Linked DNA regions of Homo sapiens: regions 2 and 3 are each linked to region 1. The links are contacts of gene promoters, found by promoter capture Hi-C in human tissues and cell types (Jung and others, 2019). All regions are on one chromosome and are shown on one strand. The core of a region is centred on a gene start or on the middle of the fragment in contact, and the rest is flanking DNA. Distances in the headings are between cores, read along the strand shown. Region 1 holds the start of YPEL2 (yippee like 2). Region 2 has its middle 4.9 kb from the start of MIR4737. Region 3 holds the start of RNFT1 (ring finger protein, transmembrane 1).

Region 1 (4,824 bases), core at 1,382-3,881:
CCCAGGCACAATGACTGTGTGGCTGCCTCAAAACCGTGAAAATCATTACGACAATGAAGAATTCACATAATCTATGAACAGCACAGCAACTCACGCAACTCATCGGCACTACTCACATCTCCAACCCCCACACACCTAGAAACATCTCCTGGTACACAACACTGTGCAGCAGCCCTCAAACAGGCTGGAGTGGAGAGGGAGGGATACCAGTCTCTTAAAGCCAACTGCTTCATGGCAGTTGAGAACAAACAATACTGTGCCCTTAGACTTTTCAAAGCCTAAGCTAGTGTGATTGGCAGCTGAGTGATTTTGGGATTGCAGAGTATGGGGTCACATACCTGACTGCACTTCAGAGCCAAGTTAATACCTTTCATTGTTCACTGCCTCCAGTTCCCACTAGATCAGGGGCTCTTATCAAGCACCTGCATCACAATCTCATAGGTCCCCTGGTAAAAATGCAGATTCCTGTGGCCCACTGAAAATAAACATCTGCGGAGTAGCCTGACAAACTATTTTTAAACACTACCCAGGTCATCTTTATACACATTTAAGTTTGAGGACCTCTGCCTTAAAGCGATGCTTCTCAAACTATGGGTCAGGACCTGCTTGGTCAGGAAATCAAATTAATGGGTCATAACCAGCAGTTGATTTTTTTAAATGAAGTAGAAAAAAAAACCTTTAAAACAGAGCACACTGCAGGGAGTAAGGGTAATTATTGTTCTCTGAAACTTATTTCAGTTACAGACCTGTATGCAGTGCAGGTCCCACTCAAAGTCTGAAAACCATGCTCCTAGAGGGAAGAAGGAAAACAGTTTTCTCGCGCATGGTGTTTATTTTCCATTTTCCACCCCTAACTCTAAGCTTCTTGATTTTGGTTCAAGCACAGAAATATCAAGACAGATCCAAGAAATGCTGTCATTGAATGCTAACCTGCGGCGGCAAAGCCCAACTGAGGAAGCGGATGAGGCTCCCACTGCACTCCTGCCTGAGATCCTATCATGGAGCTGGGGACAGGGGATGGTGCCAAGGGGGAAGTCTGCACAGCTCTCCCCAGGCTGGGCCTGTTTCTGGGGAAAAGAACTTGCAGCCACTCAAAACACAGTTTAGAAGAATGAAAATGTTCCTCACCGGAGGCAAGACTCAGCCATTCATAGGCCCTGTGGCCCCCAGAGGCAGGAAAGCACGGGGGAGCAATAACCATGTGAAATCAAGTCCCACCCCAGAGCCAGTGAGGCGGTTTACTGAACTTCTTGCATCTTTAATGCTCTGTGAGGCACAGGGAAGCTGACCGCTACCCTTCTTGCCCAATGCTTTGGAACAAGGAAGAACAAGGAAGGAAGGGCAGGGAGGAAAAGACAGCTGTCTCGTTAGCCTTCAGATTCACCAAAGGCAAGGACTCACTCAAGAGCCTCCCAAGTTGCAAGGACAGCAAATCAGCAAGGAGGCCAGAAAGCAAAAACCCCAGCAAAGCTTCGGAGCAGTTCTCTGGGGCCTTTCACAGCGGCGGGACTGGGGGGCGGGCGAGGGTGCAGCTCCGCTCCAAGCGGAGGAAAACAAGACACTCGCTCACCTGGCTTTTTAAACTCTCGCAGCTAAGACTGAAGGCAGAGGTAGCAATCTTCCGGACAAGAAGTCCAGAAGAACAGGTGTCCCCCACCCCCGCACGCCCCCAAGACCGGAGAAAAGCCCACCACTCCGGGAAAGACACCAGAGGAGGTCGGCGGCCAAGCAGGGTGAACTGGAAGTGGCGAAAGGTCGGGGCCGCCCCTAAGCGCCAGCTCCGGGGAGGCGCTCGCGGCAGAGGCTCCCGCGTTCCGTCGGGCAGGACCTCGCGCCCACCCCCTTGGCAAGGACACCGGGGAGGCGCCGAGACGCGGCCAGGGAGGAACTCGGCTGCGGTTACCTCGACCCGGGTCGGGGCAGACGACGCGCTCCGAGAAATTTCGAGGGCGCCCAGTCCCACAGTGGAAGGCCCCCAGGGCGGCGCCCCTGGACCTAAGTGTCCCCAGGACTCTCCGAGGGAAACGCGGCGTCACGAGAGGACGGAGGGCGTCCCCAGCCCCACCCGGACCCCATGGAGTCCGAACCCATGGGGACGACGCGGAGGAGGAAGCGGCGATTCCAGCTCCGCACCCCCGCCCCAAACCTGGCCCCGCAGACTCGCCCAGCCCCTGGCGCGCGTCTCCCGCCCCGGCCGGGGGTCCCGCGCCCTTGGGCTCCCTCCGCGAGCGGCCGCGGGCCCGGCAGTGTTTGTAAACAAACCGGTCACGTGGCCCGGCGGCCGCTCCCCGTCCCCGGCGCCCACGGGGACCCCACGCGGAACCGAGGGCGCCGCACCCCCAACCCCGCGCAGGCCCGGCCGGGGGAGTCCGGAGGCCGGGGCCGGGGACCCAGAGCCCGAGCTGACAGCGCGCCCCACGCCCACGCGCGCCCGGCCCGCGCCGCACTCCGGTGCACTTACCCGGCGACAGGCGGCCCTGTCCGGCCAGCGTGGGGCTTGGCTCCGCTGGGGTGCGCAGCGGCGAAGCGCGGCCCGGCTGGGGCTCGGGCTCCCGGCACGCTCTTAAAGCCACAGTCTCCGCCACCGCCGCGGCCGCCACTCCGCATCCCTCCGGGTCCGGGCCGGGGGCTACCCCGTGATGGACGCGCCCCCGCACCTATCCCCTCGGCTCAGCACATAGCAACACGCCGCGGGTTGGCCGGGCGCAGCCGCAGCCCATCCGCGCAGAGCCAATCATCAGAGGACGGAACTCCGCCCCCCGCTTCCCCGACCGCCCACTCCCCCACCCCTCGGCCCGGCCCAGCCTGGGCTAGGGGAGAGCGGCTGGTTAGGGTCCCGCCCGTCCCGGCAACTTGCCGGAGGGCAGGGACCCAGAGTGCCAAAGCTGGGTGGGCTCTCAGCGCCTAGGAGGAGGCCGTTTATTTGAGTTTGGGGTTTGTCCCCAGGGCAGGGCTGGGATTCCCAGAACCTGGGTTGTATTTTGGGGCGGGGGGATTTGCAGTGCATCTCCCTGGAGGCTCAAGATAGTCATTCCTTTCTTACGTTTTAAACCTCGCCCTAAGCCATAGCCTAAGTTACCAGAAGTGGCCCTCAGGCCCCGGGTAATTGAATTTAAAATGATAGGGGGGAGGGGGGAGGGATAGCATTAGGAGATACACCTAATGCTAAATGACGAGTTAATGGGTGCAGCACACCAACATGGCACATGTATACATATGTAACAAACCTGCACATTGTGCACATGTACCCTAAAACTTAAAGTATAATAATAATAAAATTAAAAGAAAATGATAGTGCTAGTTGCACCCAGCCCACCCATGCCTTGCTCAGAAGCCAGGCATTTCCCCTCTTCTCTCTGCCCTGCTAGTAATTTCGGCGAATTAAAAGTACGAAAGGGGCTTAGTGGAATTGAAGACCGCCCCATTGCTGCTAATTTTCCATGACTTTCAGAGGCAGATGACGGTAATTAGAGTGGGATGGTCCGAGTGACCAGAGGGGAGGAGTCCACGTTCTGGGTCACCGGGGTGGTGCTTTTCAAGGAAGAGCAGGTTAAAAAATAACCTCGTGGCAGTCAGGAAACCAGGGAGGCACCAGGTGGGTGGAGTGGGGCAGTTTCCCAGCAGGAAAACAGGACAGTTTGATAAAGAATGTTGGCACGGACAAGGTGAACAAAGCAGGTCCTGCCTTTCGCTCAAGACACTGGGGTTCCGCAGTTCCTCTGGGAACTCTTCCTCCAAGGAAACTAGTGTTTTACTGTGCAGCCATCAGGATGTGAGGTGCTGCAGGAGGTGCAGCTGACTCTCCGCCTTCCACACACTGGTTTGCACGTACACCCAGAATGCTGGCTCACCTGCATCTCCACCCAGCTGTTTTTAAAATATGCTTGGTCAACCAAATTGTATTCAGTTAATATCTATTGCATGTGAATCCAGTCACCAAGGTTAGTAAAAACAACAAAACACCCCAAATACCTCAGTATTGTGGGGCTGACATATCAGCCTCAGATTTGCAGTTTCAGTGTAAACAAAGGCTATGTCCTGGTTCACAACTGACTAGTTTGGAGAGTCTAAAACGGGGGGGGGGGGGGAATGCTTTCAGATGAGAGGAATCACAAACAAGAACTGTTTAGCATTTAATCCTTAATCTAAGATGTGATGGATTCTTTAGATTAGTAAGAGCTTGCCGTCTCGCCCTGATCTGCTTCTTGAGCAAGTTTCTTTGTCTCTCCAGGCCTAGGTTTCCACAGTTTAAAACAAGGAGGGTTGAAATAGGATGATCTCAAGTCCCTTCCAGCTCTGAAATTCTAAGTAGGGCCAGAAAGTCATGTTTGTTACAACGTTTCCGCAATATTGTGTGAGCGAATATTTGTGTTGCCACATCACCACTTCCTAACAGTAGATGCTGAATTAGTTTAACACCCTAGGATATTGGTATGTTATGTAACAAGACTGGTGGCTACTGTTTCTGTTTAAATAAAAGATAACGTTAGCTAAAGAAGACTAGCCTGATACAGTGGTTTCAGAGGGAGCTCTGAGGACCCCTTCAGGCCTGCTGTGTGTATGCAGGGGACTGGAAGAGGCCCCAGACCTTAGGGTCAGGAGACAATAAAACCAGCCAGCCGGCCAATAACAAAAAAAGTGTTAAGCCTGATCATGCCTCCTCCCAGTCAAAAAGAGCCAAGCATTTTGAGCTGGTAAAGGAGAAGGGAGAGGTGAAACAATGAAGTAAGTGAAACAAAGTAATAGATGCAACTTCTCTGAACCCAGAGGGGGCACTTGAATTGTCCCTCAATACATTTTCTCAGTGCCTACTATGAGCAGAAT
Region 2 (4,824 bases), core at 1,186-3,685, 710 kb before region 1:
CAGCTACTCAGGAGGCTGAGGTGGAGGATTGCTTGAGCTCTGGAGGTCAAGGCTGCAGTGAGCTGTGATCGCACCACTGCACTCCAGCCAGGGCAACAGAGTAAGACCTTCTCTCTAAACAACAAAAAAGGAAACCTCCTATGGAGCACCAATGCAAAGGTGTCCTTGATTTTGGTATTTGTGCTTGAATACAGACCATGAGCAAAAGCCTCACCATCTTTCCAGCATAAGAGCTAAGTAAATCAAATACTCTGGTTCATTCAGCCTTTGCTGCATTGATGTAGTGCAGTGGTTAAGAGCTTGGGCTTAAATCCTGGCTGTGCAGCTTTCTACCTGTGAAAGTTGCTTAACCCTTCTGTGCCTTATTTTATTCATCTGTAAAATGGGGATAAAAGTGCCTATTTCATAAGGATATTATAATGACTAAAATAGATAATACATAGAAAGTTCTTAGAACAGCTTCTGGCATTCAATAAATGTCAGGTATTTATTTCCTTGAATTTTCAGAGCAGCAGGCAGAAATACTGTCAACACATCATGAGCCTTTGTGATGGCAGTTAAACAGCTGGAATCTTGTAGGTCAGGTGCTAGCTGGCATGCCTCGGGAACCTGGATCAGAAAGATAAGCAGTGAGGAAGAGGCGCTGCTGCAGGACCTCTCTATCCTACTAGGAACAGCCCTCTGTCTAGCCCCCATGGGTCCCTCCCAGGAAAGAGAAGGGACTAGAAGTGGGAGAGGCCACACAAACTGAACAGGGAAGTAGGGGAGTAGGTCTTGGTTCTGCCTCATGACCCATCTCTGCGAGCCAGTCTTCAGGAATCACATCTCCAGCTTGCACACGCTCAGGAATTACTCCTGGTTTTAAAGGGCAACTCCTCTACTTAATGACTACACCCTTGGGCAGTCACTTGACCACTTATCTGTAAAGGGATACCAGTATCTCACACAGTTGTTCAGGAGTAGCTCCCATAATGTAAAGCACCTGGCTCGGAGCCTGGCATAGAGAGAGGGGCTCAGTGACAGATGGTGCCTCTTGTTACACTTTTCCTAGGTCTTCTCCCGGGGCTAGCATTTCTCTGCTTCTCATTGGAGTAAGATCCCTAGAGTGGGATATTGGAGAATGTCTGTCTGGTTCTAGTACACACCTTGAGTCCTCAAGCCTAGGCTGAAGGCATCCTCAGCTCCAGGAACATGGACATTATATTAGGGGTGGGGCCAAAGTCTTGGAAAATGAGCACTCATTCAATTACCATTTCCTTCCAACACACCCGAGCACCACAACACCGTAGCCCGCAGCCGTGGCTCACTGGACTCATCGGGGAGGAACGCGGTGGTGGTGCAGCCTCTCTCCAGGCATACTGCGTGAAAAAGCCCCTCCTTGAGAATGATTGCTTTACAGTCTCCACCATGACCAACCAGGATTTGCTGTAGGAATGCAGGAAAGTCCTATTAATAAAATGCAATCACATTAGTGGGTCAAATAAGAAAATACAAATGGTCATCTTTATGGATGCTGGAAGAGTGACGAAATGCAGTATCCTTTTCTGATCAAAATTATTTTTAAAAAAGAATTCAAAAAGATAATTCATTAGCATAATGAAATATACCTATCTTAATAGGGACTTCCCTAAAACTCAGAACCAAGACAAGCAAGAATGATATCACCAATATTACCTAATACTGTACAAGAAATTTTAATGGCCAATGTGATTCAATAAACCAAAAATCAAAATTTTCAAAGTTTTTTTTCAAAAAGAGGTTCCAAATTATCATTATTTGCAGAAAACCAGTCTGAGTGATTGGATTCACAAATCCTTGTGTGCAGAAAACCAAGAAAGTAATAAAACCAAAATTCAGAAAGTAATTAAACCAATATTCAGAAAGTAAAAAAACCAATAAAAGTTCTGTAAGGCAGCTGGTTACAAAGTAAACATGCCAAATCAGTAGCTCTTCTATATATCAGCAATAACCAATTTGATTTTTAATAAAAATTTTAATAATAAAAATACCTGAGAATAAATTTAACCAAGCTTATGCAAGGATTCTGAGGAAAAAAAATAAAAACTTTTACCAGTGGTCATAAAAGAAGATTTTTTTAAATGAGAAGATATATCATTACTAGACTGAAGGACTCAATCTATTAAAAGGCTACTTTCCTCCAAATCTATACATTTCATAAAATTCCCATCAAAATTAGAATTTTTTAAAGGACAAAATGATGTTTTTTTTCGAGACAGAATCTCACTCTGTCACCCAGGCTGGAGTGCAGTCATATTATCTTGGCTCACTGCAACTTCTGCTCATGGGTTCAAGCAATTCTTGTGCCTCAGCCTCCCAAGTAGCTGGGATTACAGGTGTGTGCCACCACACCTGGCTAATTTAAGGACAAAATGATTCTAAAGGTCATCTGGAAAAGTGAATAAAAAAATTCAAGCCAGGAATCAGGCTTACAGCTACCACACTGTGGAGGGAAAGAGAAATTTCTCCCCCAATTAGTGTGCATTTTTCAACCTTTAAAAATCCATGCTTTTGTTTTTTAAATAAAAATTCTTCTCCCATTCTCATTCCAGTCATACTCCGTCCTGTCTTTCCCACTGAATGTTACTATGAATCCTGGACCACAGGCATGGAGCAGCTAGCTCTGAAAACAAGGTGGTAGCAGGAAGATCAGGGAAGGAAAAGAGAACTCTAAACACCACCAAAGTGGCAGTAAGTCTGCCATTTTATTCCCCCTCTGGGGTCTCCTGGCCTGGACTCAAAGATGAACCAAAACCTGGAATTGCATACCAGATGCAGATAGAAAGAGCTCTGAGCCTCTGTTTCTGACCTTAGGAGAGAGGTAAGCACCCCTATAGGTCAGCAAAAGCGGGGAAATCCTGTGTTTGCTGTCTCTTTTCTCCCCACACCAGCCCCTAGGCAATCTCACTGCAGCAGTGGCAGCCAGGCAGGTGCCTAGAACTTCAAGGGAAGGAAACTCATCTCTCTGCCAGAGGAAGAATGGTCCCAACAGCAAGGGAGTCATGCCCATGGCTTTTTTCTCTTTACACAACCTTCCATGCTTGGCCGTGGAGGCAGACAGTCACAGAAACTGTAGGGCAGAGCAGTACAGTTAAAACCCTGACTTTCTAGCCAGAGGACCGGAAAGAGGGACCCCTGAGACTGTAAAGTGTTGAGATTTCAGAGAGGAGGGAACGCAAGAAGGCAATACCCTAAAGTTGTATGTGAACTCCTGGGCTCATGCCCAGGCATTCCATGTGTGGATCTGAACAAAGGCTTTGAGAACTGAACGGTGGGACAAGGCACTGTCCAGTCTCGTACCCGCCACTGGGTGGCGCACACACGGGGCGGATCTGAACAGCGCGGCAAAGGCTCTGAAGCTTAATTGATATTGAACCACAACCCGCAGGAGGCAGGTGGGAACTTGTGACTGAACCTAACCAGGACGATTGCCTGCCAAAGCAAAAACACAGGATTCCAACATGGCCCAGATTCTCATAACACAAAATTAGAATGTTCAGGATACCGTCCATAACTACTTGACCTGTAGAGAACAGAGAGAACCTTAATTTCCTGAAGACACTCCTGGGCTCAAGGGAATCTTCCCACCTCAGCCTCCCGAGTAGCTGGGATTACAGGTGCGTGCCACCACACCCGGCTAATTTTGTATTTTTAGTAGCGACCGGGTTTCTCCATGTTGGTCAGGCTGGTTTCTACATTTCACGTGAAGCACTAAATATATAACCTAAATAGACTATGAAAACCTAGGTGTTTTGTAATCCCTAAAGCAACTACATTTTCAACTTACACAAAAAGATATGGTTAAAAAAATCAGTGAATTAAAATGGAATTCCAAAAAATTCAAATAATCCAAAGGAAGGCAGGAAAAGTCAAAACAGGAATGAAAAACACAGGGAAAAATAGAGAACAAATAGAAAACACAATAAAATATTAAATGTAAATCCAAACATACCAACGATTATATTAAATTTAAAAAGTTGAAATATGCTAATAAAAAGATAGATTGTTGAATGTAAAAAACTAACAAACAAAAAACCCAACACTCAACTATATGTGTCTAAGAAACTCATTTTAAGTAAATAGTATAGATTAAAAATGAAAGGACAAAAAAGAAAGATATATCATACAAATACTAATCAAAAGAAATCTGGAGTAATTACATACCATCAGACAAAACAGACTTCAGAGCAAGGAAATTTACCAAGGATACAGAGGGACATTACATAATGATAACAAGGTCAATTTTCAAAGAAAACATTAACAATCCTAAGCATCTATGTACCTAACAACAGAGCTTCAAAATCCATGAGGCAAAACCTGACAGAACTGAAAAGAGAAATGGCAAATCAGCAATTACAGTTGGACACCCCAACCTGCCTTTCTCAGTAATCCCTAGAACAAATAGATCACATTCTGGATCATAAAACAACAATTTTTTTTCTTTTTTAGACAAGGTCTTGCTCTGCTGCTCAGGCTGGAGTACAGTAGAGCAATCTCAGCTCACTGCAGCCCAACTTCACGGGCTCAAACGATCCTCCCACTTCAGCCTCCCGAGTAGCTGGGACCACACGCTTGTGCCACCACACCTGAGTAATTTTTGTATTTTTGGTAGAGATGGGGTTTCGCCATGTTCCCCAGGCTGGTCTCGAACTCCTGACCTTAAATGATCCATCCGCCTTGGCCTCCCAAAAGTGCTGGGATTACAGGCATGAGCCACCACTCCAAGCCCATAAAACAAACCTTAACAAATTTAAAAGAACAGAAATAATACAAAGCAAGGTCTCTGAGCATAATGGAATTAAACCA
Region 3 (4,824 bases), core at 1,702-4,201, 630 kb before region 1:
TGCTCTGTTGCCCAGGATGGAGTGCAGTGGCATGATATTGGCTCACTGCAACCTCTGCCTCAGGTTGAAGCAATTCTCCTGCCTCAGCCTCCTGAGTAACTGCATTACAGGCGCGTGCCACCATACCTCGATAATTTTTGTATTTTTAGTAGAGACGGGGTTCCACCATGTTGGCCAGCCTGGTCTTGAACTCCTGACCTCAGGTGATCCGCCTGCCTCACCCTCCCAAAGTGCTGGGATTACAGGCGTGAGCCATTGTGCTTGGCCCTAATTTTTATGTTTTTAGCAGAAATGGAGTTTCACCATGTTGGCCAGGTTGGTCTTGAACTGCTGACCTCAAGTGATCTACCTGCTGTGGCCTCCCAAAGTGCTGAGATTACAGGTGTGAGCCATCATGCCTGGCCCGAGACTCTTTATTATGTCTCTCTCTCCAACATCTAGTATTATTCTTAACACTCAGTAAGTACTTGGAAAATGCTTTTTGAATTAACCAATTAAAATTAAAATGTCTATTTCCAACAGTCCAGATGCCAGTGGAAAGAAAATTTATCAGATAATAGCCTGTCACCAAGTCAAATCTTCTCATCAATTCAGTCCTTTCTTTCTTCAAATATGTCACTTTTCAGTCAAGTTACTTGGGTGAAATGCAGCTCCAAGTGCACTAATAAACTTTAAATATGGACTAATATACCTGCAGTGTTATGAGTATGTCAAAAGGAGAATTTTTTTTTTTTTTTTTTTGAGACAGGGTCTCACTCTGTTCCCAGACTGGAGCAATAACGGCTCATTGCAGCCTTAATCTCCCTGGCTCAAGGGATTCTCCCACCTCAGCCTCCTGAGTAGCTGGGACTACAGGCCCTTGCCACAGTGCCCAGCTAATTTTAACATTTTTTTCTAGAGACAGGGTCTCTCTATGTTGTCCAGTCTGCTCTCGATCTCTTGGGCTCAAGCGACCTTTTCACCTCAGCCTCCCAAAGTGCTAGGATTATAGGAATGAACCGTAGTATCTGGCCAAGATGAGAATTTAAACACTACATTTGGTATTCTAAATTTACAAATGTACCAAATGTACTAAAATTATCAGTGTACTAATACATATTGGTGCTGCATTGTGGCTGTGGCTGAATTATGTTATATTCTGTTTTTTTTCCTGTTTCCTAAATGTTCACACATTTTGAAGTTTAAAAATATCCACGACATAGTTGAAATGTTAGAATACTTACACATATCTCCTCGGAAAATTCACTATAGTCTGGAGCCTGGCTCTCACCCTTACTGAACCAGAAATCTGTCAGAAAGATTTAAATTAGTAAGCACAGAGAGACTTAAGTATGCCTTCTACCACCGCCGACCACCCCTACCCCCACCCCCAACAAAAAAAGAAAGCCAATGTGTTTTTTTTTGAGGTGGGGGTCTCCTTCTGCCGCCCAGGCTGGAGTGCAGTGGCACGATTTCAGCTCACTGCAACCTCCGCCACCTGGGTTCAAGGGATTCTCCTGCCTCAGCCTCCCGAGTAGCTGGGATTACAGGCGCCCGCCACCAAGCCCGGGTGATTTTTGTATTTTTAGTAGAGACAGGGTTTCGCCATGTTGGCCAGGCTGGTCTCAAACTCCTGACCTCAAGTGATCCTCCCGCCTCGGCCTTCCAAAGCGCTGGGATTACAGGGGTGAGCCACCACGCCAGGCCTAAACCTTTTTTTTTTTAGACGGAGTGTCGCTCTGTTGCCAGGCTGGAGTGCAGTGGCTAATCCCGGCTCACTGCAACCTCCGCCTCCCGGGTTCAAGCGATTCTCCTGCCTCAGCTTCCCGAGTAGCTGAGATTACAGGCACGCACCACCACACCCGGCTAATTTTTGTATTTTTAGTAGAGACGGGGTTTCACCATATTGGCCAGGATGTGGCCACGATCTCTTGACCTTGTGATCCACCCGCCTTGGCCTCCCAAAGTGCTGGGATTACAGGTGTGAGCTACCACTCCCCTCCTCAGCTTCGTTTTCTTAATGACCTTTTAATTTTAGAACAGTTTTAGATTAACAGAATTTATTTTATTTATTTATTTTTTGAGACCGAGTCTCACTCACTCTGTTGCCCAGGCTGGAGTGCAGTGGCACGATCTTGGCTCACTACAAACTCCACCTCCCGGGTTCAAGTGATTCTCGTATGCCTCAGCTTCCCGAGTATCTGTAGCGGGGATTACAAGTGTGAGCCAACGCCCCCGGCTAATTTTTGTAGTTTTAATAGAGACGGGTTTCACCATGTTGGCCAGGCTGGTCTCTACCTCCTGAGCTCAAGTGACCCGCCCGCCTCGGCCTCCCAAAATACTGGGATTACAGGTGTGAGCCACTGCGCCCGACCTAAACTTCGTTTTCTTAATAACCTTTTAATTTTAGAACAGTTTTAGATTAACATAATTATTTTGAGGGCAGTAGGGTCCTCTATACCCCACGCAAGACAGGTTTTTCAACTCTAACTTCTACTTCCACCCCACGCAGACTCTCCGCACCTCTCTCCTCTCATCTCGGGTTCTGACAAGGCCTGATCCTCACAGCCCAAATTCACGATTGTGAGGAAAGGTCAGCTCAGACCAAACGTCACCGCCCAGACAGACACAACTAGGTCAGGCGTCAAGCTCGCGGACATCCGAGCCCGGAAACCCTAACACTCCTCCAGGGGTAGGTTCTCCAAGCCTGAACATTTTTAACCTCAAAACGCCCAGGATCTCGGAGGCGTGTGGTGGATGCCACATAAATACATAACACATAACAACGACTTATTATTTAGCGCCAGGCCTGAAGGCCGTTCTCAGGCGCAGCTCGCTTGTTCTCGCTGCCAAAACACCCCGGCAGCCGTGAGCTCTCCACTCGGCGCGGTGCGGGGGCGGGGCTAGGAGGTGGAGCCGGGGCAGGGCGCGCGCGCGCGCGTGAGAACGTCCGGGGAGCGCGCGCGCCGCCGCCGTTGCCGCCGGGCTGAGAGAAGAGCTTGCGGGGTTTGCGGTTGATGGCCCCGACTGAAGGGCTGGAGGCGGTGTATGCCGCTGTTCTTGCTGTCGCTCCCGACACCTCCGTCCGCTTCTGGTCATGAGAGGTTAGGCCTGGGGGAAGCGGGCAGAGGAGGAGGCGGCGAGGGGCCGCGGCGCAGGGGGCTCTGGGGAGAATAGGCACTCGAGGCTCGGACGTGGGTGGAGAACTCTGCCCTCGGAGATTCCGGAAGAGTTGTGTTGAATTTTCTTCCCTTTTTTCTCCTCTTTCTTGTCTGTGCATGAAGGAAAGTGGGAGGGTTCTATGTTATTTATAGAAAAGACACTGAAAGCCTGCTGTCCAACGTCGCTCTTCAGTTTTGACGAAATAACACCCGTGGCGTCGGGGCCTCGGTGAAAGCCTTTAGTGAAAAGCACTGAAACCCAAACCGCCAGACACGGTGACTGCACCACTGTTCAGTCCTGGGAGTGAAATAGAATGACACAGAACATTCCCTGACGTTAACTCTAGCCTCCTCCTAGACAAACGGGAAAAGCACGGCAGTGTGGGATAGCCTCTGCGTTTTGTCAGCTGGGATTCCGACTCTGTTCTTCTGTTTCTAGGAGGTCCACACTGGATCATTTATTAGAGAGATCTTTCTCTGCTAGAGTCCTCTTTCCTCACACCCCTCCCTCCGTAATACACACACCACCGACGGTGGCATTTTATTGGGCGGACTGTGTAACTGCTTATTCAGACTAAAGAGTTACCTAGCAATTACGTGGTGACTCTCCAAAGTATCTATGCTTTAAATGTATTTAGGTAACATTCTTTTGCGCGGGGAGGTAATATTATTGGTGGCACCATTAATTATTGGAAACTTTATGAGCTTTGGGAAAGCTGCTTGAGCAGAAAATCTAATTTGTAGGTCACCTAAGTGCAGTGTTTATTATTAGTTACCTATGATGATAATAAGGCATTAAGATTTAATGTTGTTTTTTTTCCTAACATTTCCAACCATTAAAAAATACTGGCTCACTCTTCCTTATGAAACTTCTTTGATGTAGAATCTACATCAGAGATGAAACTGCACCATTTGGGAAAAGTAAATGTACCAGAGTACCCAGTGAGGACTGGTGCTCATTAACATCTGCTGGGTACCCATACTTCATGACTGTTTTGCGGATGCCTTCTGCCATTAGAGAACTGGAAGCATTTGCAGCTCAACTTTTTTTTTTTTGGTGCAAATGTTCCCTAAAAGATCATTTGTGTAGGGCAGCAGAGCCTTGGCATTAAGGGAGAAGGGAGGAGTCCAGTGATAAATAACCTGAAAATTCATCTGTTGTGATTATTTGCTACTCCTTTAGTGAATAAAGGATACCCAGTGAGGAATATACTGCTGGTATTTAACTGCCTGTTTACTTAGAATATCTTTTATTTGATTTTTTAGGAGACAGAGGCCTGAAGCAAAGACATCTGGGTCAGAGAAAAAGTATTTAAGGGCCATGCAAGCCAATCGTAGCCAACTGCACAGTCCTCCAGGAACTGGAAGCAGTGAGGATGCCTCAACCCCTCAGTGTGTCCACACAAGATTGACAGGAGAGGGTTCTTGCCCTCATTCTGGAGATGTTCATATCCAGATAAACTCCATACCTAAAGAATGTGCAGAAAATGCAAGCTCCAGAAATATAAGGTCAGGTGTCCATAGCTGTGCCCATGGATGTGTACACAGTCGCTTACGGGGTCACTCCCACAGTGAAGCAAGGCTGACTGATGATACTGCCGCAGAATCTGGAGATCATGGTAGTAGCTCCTTCTCAGAATTCCGCTATCTCTTCAAGTGGCTGCAAAAAAGTCTTCCATATATT

What was found. The method cuts DNA at HindIII sites, captures the fragments that hold promoters and counts their contacts. A contact is called where the count stands out against the background at its distance.
Region 2: a fragment that was not itself captured here is called in contact with the fragment with the promoter of YPEL2 in region 1 in 1 of the 25 tissues and cell types used here (hippocampus).
Region 3: a contact is called between the fragment with the promoter of RNFT1 here and the fragment with the promoter of YPEL2 in region 1, in 1 of the 25 tissues and cell types used here (heart left ventricle).

The regions. Positions count from the first base shown.
Region 1 is chr17:59,329,462-59,334,285 of GRCh38, reverse strand. YPEL2 (yippee like 2) reads right to left here and starts at 2,631. Exons shown (of 5, transcript NM_001005404.4): 1 at 2,462-2,631. RefSeq lists an enhancer at 1,574-2,135 and a silencer at 2,346-2,865. The HindIII fragment of the contact is 13,001 bases long and covers 1,167-4,824 here.
Region 2 is chr17:60,035,779-60,040,602 of GRCh38, reverse strand. No RefSeq gene overlaps it. Among named protein-coding and RNA genes, the nearest start is that of MIR4737, 4.9 kb to the left of the region's middle. RefSeq lists enhancers at 441-735, 3,453-3,582. The HindIII fragment of the contact is 6,449 bases long and covers 1-4,824 here.
Region 3 is chr17:59,962,867-59,967,690 of GRCh38, reverse strand. RNFT1 (ring finger protein, transmembrane 1) reads left to right here and starts at 2,951. Exons shown (of 9, transcript NM_016125.4): 1 at 2,951-3,083; 2 at 4,407-4,824. The coding sequence starts at 3,028. RNFT1-DT (RNFT1 divergent transcript) reads right to left here and starts at 2,595. Exons shown (of 4, transcript NR_110815.1): 1 at 2,503-2,595; 2 at 1,224-1,288. It also overlaps the pseudogene TBC1D3P1-DHX40P1. RefSeq lists an enhancer at 2,581-2,850 and a silencer at 2,881-3,010. The HindIII fragment of the contact is 23,560 bases long and covers 1-4,824 here.